Linked DNA regions of Homo sapiens: region 1 is linked to region 2. The links are contacts of gene promoters, found by promoter capture Hi-C in blood cells and fetal thymus (Javierre and others, 2016). All regions are on one chromosome and are shown on one strand. Each heading gives the region's core, a stretch centred on a gene start or on the middle of the fragment in contact. The rest is flanking DNA. Distances are from core to core; before and after follow the strand shown.

The links. The method cuts DNA at HindIII sites, captures the fragments that hold promoters and counts their contacts. A CHiCAGO score of 5 or more calls a contact.
Region 1: a contact is called between a fragment that was not itself captured here and the fragment with the promoter of AQP7 in region 2, in 1 of 17 cell types (endothelial precursors). The highest score is 5.7, in endothelial precursors.

Annotation. Positions count from the first base shown.
Region 1 is chr9:33,277,211-33,281,039 of GRCh38, reverse strand. It overlaps CHMP5 (charged multivesicular body protein 5), which reads right to left. Exons shown (of 8, transcript NM_016410.6): 7 at 2,815-2,927; 8 at 1-231. The coding sequence ends at 181. Among named protein-coding and RNA genes, the nearest start is that of NFX1, 11 kb to the left of the region's middle. The HindIII fragment of the contact is 1,866 bases long and covers 376-2,241 here.
Region 2 is chr9:33,400,982-33,404,515 of GRCh38, reverse strand. AQP7 (aquaporin 7) reads left to right here and starts at 1,948. Exons shown (of 8, transcript NM_001170.3): 1 at 1,948-2,143; 2 at 3,229-3,279. The coding sequence starts at 3,254. It overlaps LOC105376020 (a long non-coding RNA gene), which reads right to left and starts at 2,995. Exons shown (of 3, transcript NR_188543.1): 1 at 2,694-2,995; 2 at 2,368-2,608. RefSeq lists an enhancer at 1-180 and a silencer at 2,731-3,025. The HindIII fragment of the contact is 7,387 bases long and covers 11-3,534 here.

The sequences.
Region 1 (3,829 bases), core at 59-2,558, 120 kb after region 2:
AAGAAAGCATTTCCCAAGCAATGAGTCTCTTAATGGAAAAAATAAAAGAGCAATGTAATTAAACTTTCCTTCAAAGAAAGGAAAGAAACCTAAATCTGTTATGGCAAATTTGGAAAGATAAATATTTCCTAGTCCCATAATATGTGTTTGTTTTACAAGATATGCTTGAATGATGCAAATCTATGAAGCAGGGATCTGTGGCAATCCAAATTCATCCACCAGAACTCCATCCTGTAAAAAGGAAGCAATGTTTAGTGCCACTATTTTTCTATTTGATAAAAAAAAAAAGGATTACAAACATTTAATAGTTAAAACTCATTTCCAAGTATTTAATCAATCAAAACCAAAATCGCAGTCATAAGATGAGAACAAGCTTTTTCATGAAAGGTAAAGGAGGAAGTGATGAATCAAGAAGAGAACTAGAAAGGGCCAAAAGGGGGCTCCTCCACAGGGGAAAGAGAGTGAAAGAGGGAGAAAGAGAAATCTAAGAGTAAACCTGGAAAGGGGAAAAGGAGGCTGGGAGAGTCAAAAAGGAAAGGTTGAGGAGTGGGTCCTTGCCTCCAGATTTGCATTTTCACTCTGGACCAATACCTTTCTTAGCCTCCCAAATCCTTGAAGGAGCAGTGCCCGTGGATAGGCAGTCACTTCCATATCATGCTTTACTATAATCATAGGCAGCGACATCACTATCAATGAAAACACCAGGGCTGCTCTGCCTATGGAGTAGCCATTCTTTTATTCCTTTACTTTAAAAACAACAACAGGCCGGGCGCGGTGGCTCAGGCCTGTAATCCCAGCACTTTGGGAGGCTGAAGCAGGTGGATCATTTGAGGTCAGGAGTTCGAGGCCAGCCTGACCAACATAGTGAAATCCCATCTCTATTAAAAACAAAAAAATTAGCCAGGTGTGGTGAAGCATGCCTGTAATCTCAGCTACTTGGGAGGCTGAGGTGGGTGGATTGCTTGAATCCGGGGGTGGAGGTTGCAGTGAGCTGAGATTGTGCCACTGCACTCCAGCCTGGGTGACACAGCGGGACTCCATCTCAAAAAGATAAAACAACAACAACAACAAAACCCCCATATATCCACAGCATATATAACTCAGGAATCTGTGACCTTCTCAAAGTGGAAATAACATAGATGCTTCAGGGACTTTTTTTTTTTTTTTTTTTTTGAGATTGAGTTTTGCTCTTTTTGCCCAGGCTGGAGTGGTACAATGGCACGACCTCGGCTCACTGCAAGCTCCGCCTCCCGGCTTCAAGTGATTCTCCTGCCTCAGCCTCCCAAGTAGCTGGGATTACAGGAGCCTGCCACCACGCCCAGCTAATTTTTTATATTTTTAGTAGAGACGGGGTTTCACCATGTTGGCCAGGATGGTCTCGATCTCTTGACCTCGTGATCCGCCTGCCCCAGCCTCCCAAAGTGTTGGGATTACAGGCTTGAGCCACCGCGCCTGGCCGCTACAGGGACTTGTTACTAGAAAATTAACAAGGTGGACTATGGTAGTATTAATAAAAATTATTTCATGGGTTGCTGAGAAAAAGCAACCCATGGACCTGGGACCTTGAAGTTGCCAGAGAGGTCGGGGAGGAGTGGGCAGTTCAGAAAGGCAAGACTATCCCAGGCTCAACAGAGAAGGGAAGGATACAATAGAGGAAGATGCATACTCACAGAAACCAGTAATAATGGACCTAAGAAATTACCTGCTCCCTGCCCTTTGCTCTCACATTTTACAGGTAGGAAAAACTGATGAGGTTCAAAAAGAAGACATAAATTTCTGCTATTTTGCTCAAAGTCACACCTTGCCCAGCCTGGTTGTCATTATTAGTGGCTCATGCCTGTAATCCCAGCACTTTGGAAGGCTGAGGCAGGCAGATCACCTGAGACCAGGAGTTTGAGACCAGTCTGGCCAACATGGTGAAACCCCGTCTCTACTAAAAATACAAAAATTAGCCAGGCATGTTGGCGCGCACCTGTAATCGCAGCTACCTGGGGTGGCTGAGGCACGAGGATTGCTTGAACCAGGGGGGCGGAGGTTGCAGTGAGCTGAGATCACGCCACTGCACTCCAGCCTGAGTGACAGAATGAGTCTCTGTCTCAAAAAAAAAGACAATCATGTAGATTTGGACAGAGCTTTAAGTTTGCACAGTCCTTTACATACAAGATCTAATTTGCTTGCACAACAATTACGTGAGATACTTGTAATTATCTGCATTTTACAGATGCAAGGAAAAGAAAAGCTTACAATAGCTAAGTAATTAGTCATACTTAGTGTCAGGTGTTCTGATTCTTTTGCCTTAAATTAGAATCTTTCTACATTAAGTTTTATGCTTAAATTATTAATCCATAGTTTAGAAAATCCACCCATTCTAAACTCCTGTGTGTACAGGAAAAAAAAAAAAGAAAAAGAAAGGAAAATAAAATTAAAAATCCAGCCAGTAATTAACTGGTGTGTATGAAGAGTGAGACTTTTTCACTGCTGCCTAGCAAGTCTCATGCATGTGTTGCTTACGCTTTTACAGGAAATGTCTAAGACCCATCAATGGTACCCAGTGCCAGCTCACAACAAGGGTGATCATGTATGTTACACAAATTGTCATTCTATAAAAATATTCCTGAGCCTCAGTGACAGTGTTTATGCAGTCAGTTCATCATCCAATGCAGAAAAACCGGACCTTCAAGGGTTCACAAAATAATGACCAGGACTGTCTTTCTTTGTTCTAATGTTAAGACTACCTTTTAGATTCCCAGACTTATGGTCAAGCATAAAGCCTTTGCTATTTTGCATTGAAATATAAACAGAAAAAGCTTTCACCTTGTTTTTTGTATCAGTGGGAACACCTTCTGGAATTGCAGGTGCAGATGCTGCCTCATCCAAATAAGAACTGTCTTCATCAGCCAGAAGCTCATCACCTAGTGCATCCAACTCTGAGATTGAAACAGTCAACATTTAAAAAAAATGTAACCAAGAAAACTGGCAGCTAATAATTTCTCTCATTTATCGATGGACTTGAAAGAAGGCAGTGAAGAGGGCATGAGATTGTTGTATGCTGTGTGACCATTACGTGAAATCAGACTCCAAAAATAAGTCTGTGGTAAAATGAGTTGGAAGTGGCCAAGAGGAATGACAATAGCAGGTAGAGACTTATCAGGGGCAATTGAAGATGGGAAATTAAAAAATAAAGAAATAAGTGGAAAAAAAATGAAAGGTTCTAGGCAAAAATAGACCATGGAGAGAGCGGGAAAGCAGCAGTAGTAATGTAACAGGGGAATCACACAATAGAAATCCAGTGTGGAATGGTTCTGTCATCTACCCAGTTACTCATGCTAGAAACTGACAGCCACCCTTGACACCTCCCACTTCTTCCACATCCTGTCAATCATTAAGTCTTGTCCACTCAATTTTCTAAGATGTCTTCAATCTGTCCACTTCTGTCTGTTTCTGCTACCATCACCCTAGCTAGTCTCGGCCACCATCATCTCTTAAATGGCTATCGCAATAACTTCCAGACTGCTCTCCCTGAGGCCATTCGACAACCCTTCTCATTTTTTCATGCTATCCCCTACTCACCCTTCAGGTCCCATGCCTCTCTCCCACTACTAACTAGGTTAGAGTCCCTTAGTATGTGCTCCCATGCTACCCCATACTTCTTCCCTATAGTCTGTGCTCTAGTAATTAATTACTTGAAGCAAACCATTTATGTCTTCCACTGCTAGAGAAGGTTCATGAATGTAGGGGCTGCATTTTTATTCAGTGCTAAATTCCCACCACCTAGTAGAGTACCTGGCATAGAGTAGATGCACACTAAGTATTTGCCAACTATTCTTTT
Region 2 (3,534 bases), core at 699-3,198:
CCATCAAGCTTCAAATGCCCCGGTGCCCCATCCCCCTGCTCGTTTTGGAAAACTCAGTTCCCACGTCACCTCTAACGGAAGACCCTTGTACCCCTCCAGCTTGGGATAGCCCCGTCTGTATTCCTTCCAGCCTATCTGGTGTGTCCTAAGTCACCTGCTGCTTACCTGTCTCTGCCGTGAGACAGATGGGACTGTGTCTTCTCCACCTCTCAGTCCCCAGGGTCAAGCCCTGTAAAAGAGCTTAGAGCCTGATCTCTGACCCCAGCATGGATCCCAATTCCCTCCCTCACCAACCTGACACCAGCCCATTCCAACTCTGCCCAAGTGCTGACCTCATCCAAGACCCCAGATCCACTTCTAACATGACCTCATCCCGGCCCTGGGAGCACACATGGGAAAGGAAAAAAGGCAGGACTCTCCCATTTCCAAGCGTGCACCCCTCCCTTCCTGAGGAAGAAAGGCTGAATCTTGAGCCCACGTAGAATCTGCAGAGGGAGGCCGGGCGCAGTGGCTCACACCTATAATCCCAGCACTTTGGGAGGCCGAGGCGGGTGCATTACCTGAGGTCAGGAGTTCGAGACCAGCCTGACCAACATGGTGACACCCCGTCTTTACTAAAAATCCAAAAAAACTAGCTGGGCTTGGTGGTGCATGCCTGTAATCCCAGCTACTTGGGAGGCTGAGGCAGGAGAATCACTTGAACTGGGAGGCAGAGATTGTGGTGAGACAAGACTGTGCCACTGCACTCCAGCCTGGGCGGAGCGGGACTCCGTCTCAAAAAAAAAAGAATCTGCAGAGGGAAGTTAGTGCCTTACAGAGGGCTTCTGACTAGGAAGCCCCGGGACTGTGGCCGACCCCTTCCTCTCCCTGCCTCACCCCTGCAGAAAGATCTGCAGAAAAAGCTGGAAGGGGTGGGAGGGTGTGTGCAGGGGTGGGGACTGGGGCTATGCAGGTTCCAGACCTGGTCTTTGGCACCCTCTACAGGACAGTTCCATTCCCAGACCTGAGCTTTGGACAACTGAATCTTATGCCCCTTCCCACCCATGGAGCCTGGTGCCGGAAGTTCCCAGGACTTACCCACCGTCCACCACGCCACATAGCAAGCGTCCTCAGTGTCTGCAGACCAGAAACACCTCCCTTGTGTCTCAGCACTGGGCCACCTGCTGAAACCCCAAACTGCCTGCCCCATTGTTTGAGACCCAGTCAGGCCTTGGCTCCAAAAGTCCTCTGGGACTGCTGCTGGCCCCCAGGGTCTCTCCTGACTGCACCTCGGTCCCGGAGCTCCCACACCGCTGAGCCCCGAGCCCGATGTCCCGATCCAGCTCTGGGTCCTTTACGGGGGCCTTGCTGGCCTTTCCTAAGGGAGGTGTTTTCCCGAGGACAGGTGGACTGCTCCTCAGACTAGGGGCCCTCGGAGGGCCAGGCCTGGGCTTCTACCTCCTCTCGCAGGCTGGTGTTTCTCTGCAAATATGGCTCGTGTGTCCTCCTTCCTCTCAGACTGGGGGCCCCTGAGGACTGGGCCTGAGTTTCCCTTTCCCCCTTCACAATGGGGGTTCCCTGAGGACTGACCCAGGGCCTCCCCCGTCCCCTCCACCTGGCTGTTAATCTCCAACACTTCCACCTCCAGTCCTATTCTGCACAGCTCTCCCCAGCGCTGGGGGCTCAGAGGCCTCTTCAGCCTTCCCCAGGGCTGGGGCTCAGGGAGGGCTTCCTCAGGCGCTGGCCCCAGAGTCAGGCTGCACATTGGCTTGGAGGACAGGCCTTTCCTCTGGGACTGAGAGGCCCAGAGTGCCCACCCAGAGCTCCACCTCTGACCTCACAAAGGCCTGCTTCAGAACTCGGTCTCCACGGCACTGCTGGCCGGACGAGGGATGTTATTTTGGGCAGTGCATCTGGACTTGGTTCAAGTGGCACCAGCCAAACCCCTGCCTTACTGACCTCTCCCCTGGAGGAGCAGGAGCAGCGCTCGAGGCCGCCCTGGGAGAGCTGAGAGGCAGGCTCTGGACTGGGGACACAGGGATAGCTGAGCCCCAGCTGGGGGTGGAAGCTGAGCCAGGGACAGTCACGGAGGAACAAGATCAAGATGCGCTGTAACTGAGAAGCCCCCAAGGCGGAGGCTGAGAATCAGAGACATTTCAGCAGAGTGAGTGGGGCTCCAGGCAGGGTGGGGATGGGGCAGCCTCCTCAGCGCCCAGATCTGGAAGGGCCATTCCCTGGGTACCATACAGGGAGGAGGTGACTGAGGGATTGTTTGGGGAAGGAGCCCCGTCTGGGAGTGGAAGTCCCGGCTTTCTTGTTATGGTGCAGTCCTGTGTTGCTGTGTGACACAGGCACATACACCCTCTCTCTGGGCCTCAGTTTCCTTACCTGTAAGTTGGTTGTTGGGAGGACCAGCGGTAGAGCAGAGATGGCAGGGATGCACTGAGCTGGGCTGTCAGCAGACCATGGGGGTGGGACGAGGAGAGAGCTGAAGACCACCGGCAGTGGACCACAGCGGGAGGCGTGCAGGCAGGAGACGGGTCAGCTGCCGGCTTGCTGGAGTCATTCCTCCCACGCAGTCCCCTCCTGAGGGGCTGGAGCTGGGGCTGGAGGGTTTCGGCAGTCAGGGCTGGAGATAAGAGTCTGTGCTGGAGCTAGAGGGAACTGGGCTAGAGAATCAGGAGGACAGACAGGGTGAGGGGACTTCGGGCTACCTTCATGCTGTCAGTTAGAGATAAAGATAGGAGTACAAAGGGGAATTTTTGGGTGAGGTACACGGGTGAAATGAGTTTTCAGGGCCTCATCCTGTGTGTTCACCTTCTGTGTGTGTGTGTGTGCATGCGTGCATGTGTGTGTGTGTGCAGGTCCTGGACAGTCGCAGCTTAAGTTAGCAGCAAGAGGACTTGAGGTTAAAGGTATAGCACGCAAATATGAGGCTGGAGCCACTGAGTAGAGGCTGAGGGCATCTCCACAGTCCAAAGCCGGGCTGCAGACACGGAAGGTCAGCAGGAGCACTGGAGGGTCTGGCCTGGGGCTGGGGTCCTGGGGCCAGCATGGGTGGGGTGGGGCTCCAGGGCGTCGCCTCATTGGCTGAGCACCGCTCCTCCCTCCCTGTTCCTTGGCTGGGTTAAGGGAGTGGCACTAGCAGGAGCTGCCCCAGGGCTTCTCCCCTGGGGACCAAGGTCTGATGGAAGTGTGGGGCCAAGTTCTGTGTCCTCCAGCCCTAGTGACCTCTCTTTGGCTCCTCAGCATCTACAAATCTGAAAGACAAAACATGGTTCAAGCATCCGGGCACAGGCGGTAAGTACCCCACCCTCTTCTCACCCTCCAGCCCCCTGTCCTTCACCCAGCCCACTTCAGTGCCCTCCCTGTTCCATCCTCAGCCTCTCCCTTGGGGCAGCTGTCCCCACTCGACCTCCTCCTCCCCACCCACCCACTCGCCTCTGAGGTCCCAGAAGAAGAGCATCTTCCACCTGTTGCCTGGGCTGGGTCCTGGGGTGAGGGGAGGCTCAGAAATACTTGGATGAGGGTCAAGGCATGCAGGTGGCCTTCAAC